Regions from separate parts of the Homo sapiens genome. Here regions 1, 2 and 3 are each linked to region 4. Evidence: promoter capture Hi-C in 16 types of primary human blood cells and fetal thymus (Javierre and others, 2016). All regions are on one chromosome and are shown on one strand. The core of a region is centred on a gene start or on the middle of the fragment in contact, and the rest is flanking DNA. Distances in the headings are between cores, read along the strand shown. Region 1 holds the start of GDI1 (GDP dissociation inhibitor 1). Region 2 has its middle 6.4 kb from the start of PNMA5. Region 3 holds the start of DNASE1L1 (deoxyribonuclease 1 like 1). Region 4 holds the start of BCAP31 (B cell receptor associated protein 31).

The links. The method cuts DNA at HindIII sites, captures the fragments that hold promoters and counts their contacts. A CHiCAGO score of 5 or more calls a contact.
Region 1: the fragment with the promoter of GDI1 here is called in contact with the fragment with the promoter of BCAP31 in region 4 in 5 of 17 cell types (monocytes, total B cells, naive B cells and 2 more); the score reaches 6.6 in monocytes.
Region 2: a fragment that was not itself captured here is called in contact with the fragment with the promoter of BCAP31 in region 4 in 1 of 17 cell types (naive CD8 T cells); the score reaches 5.4 in naive CD8 T cells.
Region 3: a contact is called between the fragment with the promoter of DNASE1L1 here and the fragment with the promoter of BCAP31 in region 4, in 2 of 17 cell types (naive B cells and total B cells). The highest score is 6.9, in naive B cells.

The regions. Positions count from the first base shown.
Region 1 is chrX:154,435,244-154,438,403 of GRCh38, reverse strand. It overlaps GDI1 (GDP dissociation inhibitor 1), which reads right to left and starts at 1,250. Exons shown (of 11, transcript NM_001493.3): 1 at 1,105-1,250. The coding sequence starts at 1,149. It overlaps ATP6AP1 (ATPase H+ transporting accessory protein 1), which reads right to left. Exons shown (of 10, transcript NM_001183.6): 9 at 2,899-3,130; 10 at 1,888-2,722. The coding sequence ends at 2,513. RefSeq lists an enhancer at 1,218-1,718. The HindIII fragment of the contact is 14,364 bases long and covers 1-3,160 here.
Region 2 is chrX:152,998,676-153,002,364 of GRCh38, reverse strand. No RefSeq gene overlaps it. Among named protein-coding and RNA genes, the nearest start is that of PNMA5, 6.4 kb to the right of the region's middle. The HindIII fragment of the contact is 1,075 bases long and covers 1,843-2,917 here.
Region 3 is chrX:154,407,813-154,411,236 of GRCh38, reverse strand. DNASE1L1 (deoxyribonuclease 1 like 1) reads left to right here and starts at 1,983. Exons shown (of 8, transcript NM_001303620.2): 1 at 1,983-2,125. The HindIII fragment of the contact is 12,936 bases long and covers 1-3,424 here.
Region 4 is chrX:153,721,748-153,725,636 of GRCh38, reverse strand. BCAP31 (B cell receptor associated protein 31) reads left to right here and starts at 1,250. Exons shown (of 8, transcript NM_001256447.2): 1 at 1,250-1,303; 2 at 2,349-2,484. The coding sequence starts at 2,393. ABCD1 (ATP binding cassette subfamily D member 1) reads right to left here and starts at 781. Exons shown (of 10, transcript NM_000033.4): 1 at 1-781. The coding sequence starts at 370. RefSeq lists an enhancer at 1-161 and silencers at 622-1,581, 1,792-1,971. The HindIII fragment of the contact is 9,880 bases long and covers 1-3,228 here.

The sequences.
Region 1 (3,160 bases), core at 1-2,500, 710 kb before region 4:
CTGGCTAGTTGCCTCGCCTAAAATTGGGGTGATGGCTTCATCCGACCACACTCTCCATTGCAACCTTGCTGGGCAAAGGAGTCCCGTCCCCCTCACAAGGCGGAGAGTGAAATAACGGAGGCTTTGAGGGAGGCAGGGCATCCAGCAGACACAGGATGGCCTTCCAGTACCAACACGCCGAGAGGCATCTACCTACGCAGAGCCGCACAAAAAGGCGGATAAAACACAATAAGGCACAGAGAAGACCCAGCTGGACTGCAAAGGACACTCGAAAGGGAGGAAAAGAAAGGCTTAGCACAGTCCTTGAAATTGTAGGCCCCACCCTGGACTGCTCTTTCTTCAAATAGCAGGAGCCCCTGCCGCTGAGGAGGGGCATCTGGGCCTGGACCGAGGAAGAAGAGTCTCTGAGGGGAGTAGGCCAACGGGGTTTTCGGGGAAAGGGGGAAGATAAACACCCTCACCAGTCACTGTCACTAGCCCAAGGACAAAGGCTGCAGATGCTACCCAGCCTGAGGTCTCCATGGGCAACCGAGGTGGGGTTGCGGGAATGTGCTTACTGCCCCCACTGCTGTTCCTTCTGGAACATTCCCTGGATCCCCTGGCCCCAGAAGACGATGAGGAGGCGGGCTGAGGGCCCACTCTGGCGAGGCCCCCTGACCCCAGGTCCTTCTACTTCATCCCCACCGGGATTAGCGCAAGATGGGAACGGACGCTGAGAGGCAACGCTAGGCGGGCAATGGGTGCGGGCGACGGGTGGATGCCGTGATGGGTGGGGGCGATGGGTGGGCGGGGTCGTGGGCATCGGGCCGAGTGGGGGTGCGTTTTCCGGTCCAGCGGGCAGGGGTAGGGAAGATGGGAGGGCGCCGGGGGTCGGACCCGGGTAGCCCAGGAGGCGGCCAGGAAGGGGGCCTCTTCGGGGAGATGGGGTCATGGCAACGAGCAGAGGCGACGTCGCTGGGGGAGCAGCGGGGTGGGCACGGCGCCGGCTTTTCGGGGAGCGGAGCGCAGAAGATGGCAGTGACCAGAGGATGGGCCGGCGGCCGCATCATCGCGGGGGATGGCGAGGGCACGACGCAGGGCCAGGGGCGCCGGGGCCGCACTTACGGTGAGACCGGTCCCCAGCACGATCACATCGTATTCCTCGTCCATGGTCAGGCCTCGGTGCCAGCGCCCGCTCGGCTCCTCCTCCTCCTTCACCGCAGCAGTCGCCGCCGCCACCGCCGCCGCCGCCACCGCACTGGACCAAAGATGGCGGCGCGTCGGCCGTCGCCCGACCCCTCCGCCGCGTCAAAGAGTCCCGCCTCTTCCCGCGCCCCGCCGCAACCGGCAGGGGCCACCGCCTCCCCGGCTCGCCTCCCGGGAGGGCTGCCAGGGCCCGGGCCACAGCACCAGCGCGGCTCCGCGGGCGACGCTGCTCGCCGAGAGTCTAGAGAGGCGCGGGGCGGGGCGGGCGGGGCGGGCCGGCGGCCGGTGCTGCGGCCCAGGAAGAATCCGTGCGCGGGAGCCGCGCGCGCCCCGCCCCACCCGCCGCGCCCCGCCCCGCCCCGCCCCGCGCGCGCCCGCCCACCTCCCCACCCCCGCCCACCCCCCCGGGAGTCTCGGCGCGGCCCCGCGGCCGGGCGCGCGCCGCTGCGGCAGCCTGGGGCGGCCCCCTCACGACGCGAAGGCTGCCATTGTCACGACGGCCTCCTGAGACGCCGAAGCGCACCGGGACTCGGCCCGACCGCCCCTCCCTACCCTGAGCGGTTAGGGCCCAGCTTGCTAAAGCCCCTCCCGGTCTCCGCGGATGCCTCTTCGCCTCCCCCTCGCCAGGCTCCATCCTCCCGCATCCCTCCGGCGAGCACGCGCCTAAAGCCCAGCGCAGAAATGAGCGACAAGAGGCCCAACGCATGGCGACCCGCGTTTATTTTATTAGGAAGGAAACAACCAAGCACCCCATGCTCCTGCCCGGCACTCCCGGTGGGAACATGCCAAACAGCCGGCGATCGCACCCAGCCCACCTGTCGTGGAGGTCCCTTCCTTCTCAGGCCACAGAAATAAACCCGTGTACTTCTTATTGTTAGCACAACATCACCAGAAAACGATAACGACAGCCAAGCAGGACAGACAGTTAAGTAGTACTTCCACACTCCCAAACTCAGGGAGCCCTATAACCTTAAGGAGGGAGCATTTGCTACACAAAAGCACTATCCACAGCCAGGGATGATGTAGCCACAAGAATAAATAAGGAGAAAGGAGACCCTAGAATTCATGTCCCTTACGCCTCACAGCGACGAACCCTGGGAAGCTGGTTGGTCTAGCATCTACGCAGAATATGTACACCTTGTTGGGAGAGATGGGGGCAGCCCAAGAAAGCTCCTCAGCGGGCTGAAGAGGGAGCAAGATGGGCTGAGGGGAGCTTGCAGTTCATGCTGCAGTAGGAAGAGGGAAGCTCTTCAGTCCAGTGCGCTGCAGGGTGGGAAAGCAACAACACGGACACCGTCCCACCCTCAACCCCCCCACTGGCACAGGGTCACACAATCTGGGTCAAAGAAATAGTGGGGCCCTTGTGGTCATCAAAGCGATCCATGGTCTTGAGGCTGAGGATCATGTGCAGGCCATAGGTGAAGATGAAGAGCATGAACAGGGAGGTGAGCAGCCCCATCCAGATGCCGGGGGAGAAGAAGCTGGCACAGTCGCTGGCGTAGGAGAACTGCTCCCCCATTACGTTGAAAGCCTGGATCTGGCAGACACACAGACACGGGTCAGAAAGGACCGTTGGGAGGCCCAGCAAGAACTGGGACAGGGGCAGCGCAGGGACAGGACTCTCAACTACATGCCCAAGCCCAAGCCTCTCTTCGTCTCTCAACCACTAGCCTGGGCTCCCCCACCTGAAGCTGGGCCACGCCCGCTCCATACCTGGAAGTCCTGAAGCATCATCTGCCAGGGAGAGGGCTGCGTGCGGGCCACGAGGAGACTACCCTTCTTGCTCAGGCTGCTGACATACTCGCAGTGGAAGGAGTAGATGCTGGGCCCTGTGACCTGGGAAGCATTGAAGTAGGCGACGGAGCCATTGCTGTGGACTTCGAGGCGCTCCATGGTAAACCAGTGCCGGGCAGACACTGGGTAGAGGCGGTTGGCCAGAATGAACCTGGGGAAGGTGGCAGGGATGTCAGGTGAG
Region 2 (3,689 bases), core at 1,131-3,630, 720 kb after region 4:
GAGAGAGAGAGCTTGTGCAGGGAAAACCCCATGATTCAATTATTTCCCACCAGGTCCTTCCCACAACACATGGGAAATATGGGAGCTACAAGATGAGATTTAGGTGGGGACACAGAGCCAAACCATGTCAAGGAAGGAGTACGTGGCTCCAATATCAATCAAGAAATCAACTTGTCTTTTTCCCACCAAAGAGTTACCCAGGGTTCCAGGCAGGAGATGGGGATGCAGCCTCATCCACCTATTGTACCCCCTGAGACCCCATCACTCTCTTGGATACCTCTGACAAAAGTAAAGCCTTTTCTTCTTTCCCCTGGGATTGCCTTTTTAAACTCAGGAAGTCCTTTTCCAATGGTCCTCTTGTTTACAATATGCACAATGCTTGGGCCCCATCTATGGATCGCCTTTCTGGAGGCCTTTCTTGTTTCCAGGGGTGTCTACCTTCTCATTGGGCTTCTTTACTTCAAGTGCTGTGAACAGAGCAGCAACCAACAAAGATGCCTGTTTTTCCATCCTCTGTTGCTCTTTATGATCCAATGCTTGATCTCAGTTTTTGAACACCTTAAAAGCAATCTATACAGTTAAGAGATAGACATTCCAAAAACACTTTCTAATTTTTATAGCTTTTTCTGAATGCCAGGAGTGCTTTGACTAATAAAAGTTATGTTAATTAATCTGAGGTTCTCAGGGGCCTCAGGATCTATCTCAGTTGACATTGCCAGGAGGCTTCAAAAATTATCTCCAAAAACTTTCAGATGAGTTTTCATTTGGCCTCTGTCACATTTCCTGAAATTTATTAAAGCTACACTACTTTGAGACCCCTTTCCTCAGGACTGCTAAAATTCAATCTCTTTAATGCTTGCAATGAGCTTGACTCTCATGATTTGGATCCTATCAGGATCTTGCACATGCCAGAATGCCCAGTCCCTTCGTTGGGACAGGACGTGTTAACTAAGTTAATTGCCACAGTAACCTTTGCTCTGGGAAAATTGGACATTGAGGTGCCACCAGAACAAGCATGTGAGCTCCAAGATGCCCTTTTTGACCACGGAGCAGGAAAACACACCACCAATATTATTGAGAACATCTTAAAGCCCAGACACTTGGGCCAATGGGAGGCTGGGAGGAGCTAAGACTGCTTGTGTTAGGCTATAGCCTCAGCAGTAGCTGCCCAGACCAGATTGCTGGCAGTCTCAGTATGTTACTGGTCAGCTTCTTCTCTAGCTTTTTCTAAAACTATTCTCCACTCTTTGGAGGTAAGTAGTGCATTTTGTAAATATTGCACATTCTCCCAGTTAGGATTATGAGTAGTGTAAATGGAGAACACATTTTCCATCCTCCTTGGGTCACCCCAGTAGGTAAGCATGTTATCCTTCCAATGGTATAGGTCAGAGACTGAGAATGGCACGTGTACCCACACAGGTCCCGCTGGCTGACCCTGGGCATTGATTCTGCCAATGGGTACTTGCCTAATGGAATTGCCCTACCTCAACCAGAGTGGCTCCCTGACGATATTGAGTGCCCTGTCAGGTGTGTGAAGGAGAGAGCACTCCTGGCCTGTTTACGTCACTATTATTCCCCAGTCCAGCCAGGGTAATAGGGGCTCCCATTCCTGCCTGAGCAGGGGGGCGGGGCCATTGCTCTGGCTTCCATATCTCGCCCCCCATAAGGTGGAGAGATAGGATTGGTGCATTCATTTGTTGAAGTAGTAAGTCATCTTCTGATTTTTGAGAACCGGGTAAAACCTTTACCTCTTTCACCTTAGAGGCATTTCTTTCAACCATGATTCTATGCAAATTATACCTTCTTTGAATTAGCTCACTTTGGTACAAAAGCATAAAAGCTTGTACATTCAGAATTTCATCCCATTTACCTTCTTGTTCACAAAACAATTCTAATTGAAAAATTATAATGTAATTTAGATATCTAAATTCTGGCTACCATTCCCTGGATCCTAGGGGATACCGTGGTCAGGCAGAATTTCAACATTAAAAACATTTTTCTTTTTCATGGGCTCAAAGCTAAAAATGGCCCGATTCTGCAGAATGCACCATAATGGGCTACAAGGAGGAACATAATTTGTAGTTTCCATTTTAGATGACAAGACCTTAGGTGAAAAACCCTTAATGCCTCAGCTGGGCTTTAGGCAGATTGTCAAGCAAGCAAATCAAAATCAAAATGTGATTTCTCAAAGTCTCCATCCCTTCAGTTGCTTATGGAGTATTCCCTACTAAACACACTATGATGAAGCAGAGTCCCGTAAATTGCCAAAGCAAGGCCAGATGTCCTGCCAATGCAGAACGTAGTGTTTGAAGAAAATATACCTTGGGGCTATTGCCCACAAATTTGTCACCTGCCAAAAAATGTCTTCCCAGCCAAGTGTCTCATTTCTAATGCTGCAAAAGTAAAAGCAACACAAGCCAGTGATGCCTTGGTGGCAGCCAAATACACAGATCCATCCCTGAATAAAATAATTCAGGCAGCTACTGGACAGGGTCCAAGGGTGCTCATAGCCAGGGGCTGATATGCTATTGGCAAGACACCCACTCAGGGCTTTTGAGTTGTGGCCAAGTGTTATTGAACTGAACTGGAGTTGTCTTGCCCATCACAGTAAGATCAGATATCCACACTGAGGTTTGCAGTGGTGGAAAGGAAGACATTTATTTGCAGGGCACTAAGCAAGGAGGATCAGGCAGCTAACGCTCAAATCCAGAGCTCCGTGATGGCTTGCAGGTAAGGGCTTTTAAAGGTAGGAGTAAATTTCAGGAAAGCAGAAGTTACAGGCTAATTCATAAATCATTACACAGAGGTTACCCATTGGTTTTGGCCTAAAAGGGTGGGATATCTTGAAGTGAGGGCTTACAGGCCATAAGTAGGTTCAAAGGTCTTTTGGTTTGCAGTTGGTTAAGCAAGAGAAGCTTTGTTTAAAATTTTTGGGTCAGCAGAAAAGAATATTAGCTCTGACAGATGGATGTGATTTCCTCCAGGCCCCTCATGAAGAAGTTTGGAACAAAGAGTGGTGGTCAGAGTTCAGTCCTCAGCTCCCCCTTTTCTGGGGTCTGCATGCCAGCTGATCAGTTTGGTGGGGATCCAAGTTTCTGAAAAACAACTCAGAGATATATGTTAACATGTTATCTTTAGTTTCTATAGGGAAAGAAAACATCCTGTGATTGTAGCTTCCTTGGCTGTTGTTTTAAGCTATTACCTTCTTGCTTATCAACTTGCTTATTTACTTCTCAGGGCTAGCTAGGTGCCTGGCATTGCCCCTGAAAGAACTCAACATTTTCCTTTATTTATATGCTTAAGGGGGCCTGCAGACCCCTGAGACGGGGTCCCTGCTCCATCTCACTTTCCTCATTGTGTATTCTTGGCAGCTTTGTTGAAAATTAATTGTCCATGTATGCTACTGTATGATCCAGCAATTCCACTATGGATAGATATCCTAAGCAAATAAAATCACTATCTCTAAGTGGTATCTGGACTCTCTTGTCCATTTCAGCATTATTCACAATAGCTAAGATAAGAAAACAACCTAAGTGACCACTGACAGATGAATGGATAAAGAAAATGTTTTTTATATATCTATATTATATATATTATATATAATATATATAATATATTATATATAAATGTCTTATATATATTTTTATATAATATTTAATATATAATATAATATATATTATATAATATAT
Region 3 (3,424 bases), core at 734-3,233, 680 kb before region 4:
GCCATCACACTCTGATCCACCCGCCTCGGCCTCCCAAAGTGTTGGGATGACAGCCGTGAGCCACCCCGCCCAGCCACATATACAATTTGACATAGTTACAGTACTACATGATACTATGTGTATGTAGCAATGTATAATCTACTGTATGGCAAAATATACAATATATACAGCAATATATACAAACATATTGTGTATCATATGTAATACAAGAAACAGTATTTTATACCATCTGATACAGTCACAATGTCAGCTACTACCTCTAGTTCTGAAACATATTCATGACCCGGAAAGAAAGCCCCCTATGCATTAAGCAGCCAGTTTTTTATTTTTATTTTATATTTATTTATTTATTATTATTTTTTTAGGAGTCTCGCTCTGTCGCCAGACTGGAGTGCAGTGGCACAATCTCGGCTCACTGCAACCTCCGCCTCCCGGGTTCAAGCTATTCTCCTGCCTCAGCCTCCTGAGTAGCTGGGACTACAGGCGCAGGTCGCCACGCCCGGCTAATTTTTTTTTTTTTTTGTATTTTAGTAGAGATGGGGTTTCACCATGTTGCCCAGGTTGGTCTCGAACTCCTGAGCTCAGGCAGTCCACCCACCTCAGCCTCCCAAAGTGCTAGGATTACAGGCATGGGCCACCGCACCCGGCAGTTTTTTATTTTTATTTTTATTTATTTTTATTTTTGAGACAGAGTCTTGCTCTGTTGCCCAGGCTGGAGTGCAGTGACGAGATCTCAGCTCATTGCAACCTCTGCCTCCCAGGTTCAAGCGATTCTTCTGTCTCAGCCTCCTGAGTAGCTGGGATTACAGGCGCAAGCCACCACACCTGGCTAATTTTTGTATTTTTAGTAGAGGCTGGGTTTCTTCATGTTGGTCAAGCTGGTCTCGAACTCCCGGCCTCAGGTGATCTGTCTGCCTCTCCTCCCAAAGTGTGAGTCATCCTACCTGGCCTGTTTTTTATTTTTAAACCATAATTTATTGATTTTTTTTTTTGAGATGGAGTCTCGCACTGTCGCCCGGGCTGGAGTGCGAGTGCAGTGGTGTGATCTCGGCTCACTGCAAGCTCCGCCTTCCAGGCTCAAGCAATTCTCCTGCCTCAGCCTCCTGAGTAGCTGGGATTACAGGCGCCCACCACCACGCCGGGCTAATTTTTTGTATTTTTAGTAGAAACGGGTTTCATTATGTTGGCCAGGCTGGTCTTGAACGCCTGACCTCGTATCCACCCGCCTCAGCCTCCCAAAGTGCTGGGATTACAGGCATGAGCCACCACGCCCAGCCCATAATTTATTGATTTTTTAAAATTTGTCCAGCCTTCTATTACCACGTCGAATCCATTAGCTACAGCCATCCCATGAGAAGCTGAGTGGATTCAGCCCCACCTCCTGCTCACAGACCCTGTCCGAGCACCTCATTTGTCCCAACAGCATTACTGCAGGACCCCCAGGACGTTGGACTGCCAGCTCCCTGGGTCTCCTCCTCTCTGGGGCAGATCCTCAGTCCTCCCTTGACTTCACGACTGTGGCCAGATCATGTGTGGACTGTCCCTCTCTTTGGGTCTCCAGAGCGCTTGCATCAAACACCCCTAACTCAGAAGTGTGCAGCCACACTGGGACTCAGAACCCAACAACAGGGACAGAAGACTCACGCCCTTGGGGTGCCCGGTCTCGTGGCATCAGGCATGACTTCCAGCTCCTGCGCCTTCCCCAGCAACTGCTGACTGGGGACCCAGACCGGGAGCTGAGCGACGGGCCTGGCGAGCGAAGCTCGGGGTCTCACTCAGGCACCAGCCCCTCCTTGCCCCAGGCTTGAGTGACTCACAGGTCTGTCATGTCCCGCTGGCCCGGGAAGGCGGGGTCTGGGTGGGAAGGTGGGCGGGCAGGTCAGCAGTTCCCAGGCCTGGTGCTGGTCCTCCTTGTTGGCGGCGAGGCGGAGACGGGGCGGGCCTGCCTGTTGGCAAGGGTGGGGCGTCCGGCCCAGCCAGGCCCTTCCTGGCCGGGTGGCTCAGGAACACAGCCTCTTCCTCTTTTTTTTCCCCTCCTAGCCCTATTCAGGCAGGAGCTGCTCTTCTGGGGTATCGCGATCCACTTAAGGATGAGGCAGACTTGGTGACAAGCTGGTCTGAGCAGGTATGGGAGCCCCCTGGGGAGACGGAAGAAGGGAGGAAGTTGCCTTCTGCCTGGGGAGGGTTTGAGAGGGAGAGGGAAGCCTAGGGCTCCCACCAAGGCTGATATTGACAGCCAGGGTTTGGGGCTGAAGCCAGGAACCGTCGCTCTCTCTGGTTCTTACTGGTAGCCCTCATGGGGGTCCCTGACGCCAGAGCCTCCAAGGCTGCATGTGCCAGCCCAGGGCTGCCCACATACCCATGTATATCCCAGAATAGGCACCAGGGTAGGGAACCCAAACTAGCATGAGTGACAGAGCAGGTGGTCAGGGAGAAACAGACATCAAACCCAGCCAGGAGAGAGACACCGCAACAGAGAGACAGAGAAGGGAAACCAGAGACGAGAGGGAAAGTGAGACAGAGACGGACAGAGCCTCAGAGAGGTAGGAAGTGAGCCCGAAGGGAAGGTGACAGGTTGATAGAGAAAAGCAGGCAGACAGAGCAGAGGAACTCATGCCTCAGGATGCAAAAGCCACATGGACAGGGCGTGGAGCAAGGAGCCGAGCCCTGCAAGGTCAGGTGAGTGTGAGACAAAGATAAACTGAGAGAGGGGGGCTCCAGCTGGTGAGATGAACAAGAAGGGCTCCCCAGTGGTGGCAGGGGCATGGGAAAGAGTCCCCATCACAGGTTGCAATGGGGATGATTTGGCCATATCTGAGACCTTTTAAAATGCACACACCCTTCACTGCCGGGAGTTTATCTTAAAGAGAACATCTCACAAGTGGGGAGACAGAGATGAACGAAGATGTTCCTGTAGTTGCTAATGGAGGCGAAAAGCACTGGGGTCTTGGAACAACATGGTGAAACCCCATCTCTCCAAACAAATTTTAAAAATTAGCTTGGTAGCCGGGCGCGGTGGCTCACACCTGTAATTCCAGCACTTTGGGAGGCTGAGGTGGGAGGATTACTTGAGGTCAGGAGTTTGAGACCAGCCTGGCCAACATGGTGAAACCCTGTCTCTACTAAAAGTACAAAAATTAGCCGGGTGTGGTGGCACGTGCCTGTAATCCTAGCTACTTGGGAGGCTGAGGCAGGATAATCTCTTGAGCCTGGGAGACGGAGGTTGCAGTGAACTGAGATCAAGCCACTGCACTCCAGCCTGGGAGACAGAGTGAGACTCCATCTCAAAAAAAGAAAAAAAAAATTAGCTTGGTGTGGCAGCATGCACCTGTAGTCCCATCTACTCGGAAGGCTGAGGTGAGAGCATCACTTGAGCCTGGAAGGTGGAGGTTGCAGTGAGCTGAGATCACATTACTGCCCTCCA
Region 4 (3,889 bases), core at 1-2,500:
GGACGATGCAGCGGGCCAGCCTTCCGTCCAGGCGGGCCACATACACCGACAGGAAGGTGCGGCTCACCAAGGCGGCCGAGTGCAGGGCCAGCAGCCCCGTCTCCCGGCACAGGACCCGGGGGAACAGCAGCCGCAGGAGCCACAGGAGCCGCTGCAGGAATACCCGGTTCATGCCAGCTTTGGCCGCCGCGACCCCGGAGGCCTCCTGCGTGGGCTCCCCGGCGGGCGCCTGAAGACCCCTGGCCGGGGCCAGGCACTGGCGCACCAAGGGGTAGACTTTGTGGGCTCCATAGGCCGCGAGGGCCAGGAGCACGGCCGTGCGCTTCAGCGTGTTCCCCCGCCAGGGCCGGGGCCTGGAGAGCACCGGCATGTCACCTGGGCTGGCTGCCGCGTAGGGACTGGGGCTGGTGCCTGGGGCAGCAGTTGAGGCAGGTGGCTGGAAGGATTGTTGCTCTGACCCTGGGCCTGTTGTCTAGGCAACTGGAAACCTTGCGATGGCCCCTGAGACTGTCGCTTTAGGCCCCCGGGGTGGTGCTGGGGCCCCTGGTGCGGTGGGCTCAGGGCCCTCCAGGGTCGCGGCCTCTTCGGGCAGCCCAAGTGGAGGAACTTGGCTCTCCTGTCCTGTCAGTGCCCTGGCCCCTGAGGTCAGGGCCTTGAGAGGTCTCGGGCAGAGGGGGCGTCTCTTCCTCTCCACCTTCTCCTCCTCCTCCTCCCCCGGTGGCGCCCCTCCCCGGGGCACCAGGCGCGTCCGTCCGCTCCGCAGCCTGGCTGAAGCGACAGTGACTCCTCCACCGGCCCAGAATCCCCACCCACTCTTCCCCAGGGGCGAGTCGGGGGAAGGGGAGGAGGCGGAGGAGGGGCGAGGGGCGGAGTCCGGGCGCGGGAGCCCCACCCTGTTCTCGCCCCTCGGCGGGGCCCGCCCACACCCCCACCTCCCGTTCTCGCCCCTCGGCGGGGCCCCTCCCGCACCACAGAGACGTGGGACGGCCGCGCGGACTAGAGAAGCGGCCCTCGCCGGCCCGACAAAGCCCCGCCCCGCCCCGCCCGCGTGCTCGCTCCACCCCGCCCTGCTCGCCCGGAGCCCGAGGCGCCTCTTCCTCTCCCGCTCGGAGCGCCGGCCCTCCGCTCCGGGGCGGGGTGGGAAGCGGAGGTGGGCGGAGCCTCCGGGGCCTCGCGAGGGCTGGTGGGCGGTGCCCGGCGGGCGCTTCCGGTTTCCGGCCGCGGTATGAGGGGCGGGGCCGGGGCTGCTGTGGGAGAGTTCTGTTGCTGCGGCGGGGCCTGCACGTTGACTGTGGGAAACTCGGTGAGCGGGCTCCGCGCGCCGGGCTGGGCTCCGGGACCGCGGAGGCTCCCCGGCCCATCGACGAGGGAGAGAGGCGAGCGGCGCGGGGAGGCCCGGGGGCCGGGGAATCTCGGGGCCCGCAGCCTACCTGCGTGTGAGAGGCAGGGGCGAGGGGAAACCGGGCGGCGCCTCTAGAAGCTGGTCTCGGGGGCGGGGCGGGGGGCGGTGAAGCCCCACCTGGAGGAGCGGCCGGGATGGGCCTCCGGGACGGTGTGCCAGGCCGGGGCCAAGTCGGAGGCCCCTCGCTCTGGGTGGGCGCTGGGGCCCGCGAGGGCTACTGTAAGGACCCCTGGCTTCTGAGGATACTGCGTCTAGAACTTTCTCCGTATGGGGCCTTGAGGTGCTTGGTCGAGACCTGCCTTTGCGCTTGGTCCCGAATCCTGCCCTCTAGGAGTCGCTCTTGCGGGCCTCCAGCCCACCGGAGGCGAAGCGGCCCCGGGCGGAAGGCCGCTGGATCCTCGAGGGAGGTGCCGGTTTCTCTCCGCGGGCGCCGTGGGGACGGTGGGAGGCGGGGGCGTCGGCAGCGCTTGGACTAGGTGCGGCCTTGGGCCTGCCTGGTAGCGGGGATTTGGGCCCGCAGAGCGCCCGCCTCTGCGGCTGAGTTCTGCCTGGCGGGGAAGGGAGCGCCCGATGGGTGCCGAGGCGTCCTCCTCTTGGTGCCCTGGCACTGCTCTTCCCGAAGAACGCCTTTCAGTTAAACGGGCGTCGGAAATCTCGGGCTTCCTGGGGCAGGGATCGTCGGGAGAGGCCGCTCTGGACGTGTTGACACACGTGCTGGAGGGGGCAGGTAATTGACCAGCGAACGGAAGTTTGTGGGGCCTGTGAACGCTGCTGGCCAAGAGGCCCTGCCGAGTGGAGCCCTGCTTCCGCCAGCGCATCAGAGACTTTGAAGCAAAGTGCAGGGGGTCAGGGTGGAGAGTGGCGGCCCCAGCCTCGCAGGGTAACTGAACTGGATGTTCTTGGCTGCCCAGCGCTTACAAGTCCCGTACCTTTTGTGCCCTGCCAGGAAACAAGCTCACATCTTCCTGTGGGAAACCTTCTAGCAACAGGATGAGTCTGCAGTGGACTGCAGTTGCCACCTTCCTCTATGCGGAGGTCTTTGTTGTGTTGCTTCTCTGCATTCCCTTCATTTCTCCTAAAAGGTATGGCCTATGGAGCAAGCAGGCGAGTTAGGCAGGAGGGTGCCTGTGCCCTAGCCCTGGGACTGGTGTGTGCAGCTGGTGGACCCTGGAATTGGGACCCGATGGAACAGGTAGAACCTGTCTGGGGTGGGGGTGGCAGGGGTTGTGTTTGTTATTGCCAACCCTTCCCAGGGTTCTGCTTCGTCATGACTTGCTCAGTTCCTTTTCCTGTGTCCCCTGCCTTCTGGTCTTCAGAATGCCCCCGAGAGGCAGGAAGATCTATGTTACAGTTCTGGAAATGATGCCCTCCCACCCACTCTTGGTCCACGGGGTGCTGGGATGGTAGCGTGGGATTCGGAAGACTTGCACCACTGGGTCACGTTGTTGCTGATTTGGTGACTCTTGTCCTCCTAACTAGTCTCACTGGTATTGCGCAGTGGCTGCATGAACATTACTCAGCCTGTGGAGGATGAAGCCATATTCCCTTTTAATGAACAGAGGACCTGTTAAAAGTGAATTGGAGATTAATTTTAATTATGTATAATACCTGAACACATCCCTATTTAAATTACGATATTACAAATAAGGCCAAATCTCCACAGGTATTTTTAAAAGCCGTTTTTTCGTGAAAAATTATCTTTGATGTGATACCATAGAAAGTATGCAGTGCTGTCTGAGGAGGATTCTTGTAGAAAACCACACCTTCGTACAGTTGACAAGACGTGCAGAGATAGAGGGCCCCGGGGAGCTTTAATCTGGGAAGCTTTAGAGGACAGACAATCTGATTTCTACACAAAGGAAACTGGAAAAGCAAATGAAAGAGGGAGAGGGAAGGGGGAGCTTCCAGAATAAGCTGGATTTAAGACGTTTATCTACCGAATGCCAAATCGGTACCTTGTTGGGTCCGGATTCAAACAAATATCATTGCCTTCAGTGATTGGCATATTCAACTCTAGCCCTGATGATGAGGGCTTCTTGTTGATTTGAACAATATGTAAACACTTCTGAAGTCTCTTCTTAGAGCTGCATCCCAAAGCATTTGTGGATGGAAATGATGTGAGGTCTGGGGTCCATCTCATCATAACAGGGTCGGGGGATATAGACAAACCAAGGTTTATCATGTGGAAAGACAGTTTAAAGAAATAACGTGTATGGGGCAAACATTTGAATATTACAAAGGGGAGTACAATGAAAAGTAAGTTTCCCTTTTCAGAGACTACCAGTATGTTTTCTTTTTGTTGTTGTGGTTTTTTTGTTTGTTTTTGTTTTTATTTTGAGACAGAGTCTTGCTCTGTCACCCAGGCTGGAGTGCAGTGGTGTGGTGCTCGGCTGACAGCAGCCTCCACCTCCCGGGTTCAAGCAATTCTCCTGCCTCAGCCTCACGAGTAGCTGGGACTACAGGTGCCTGCCAACATGCCCAGCTAAT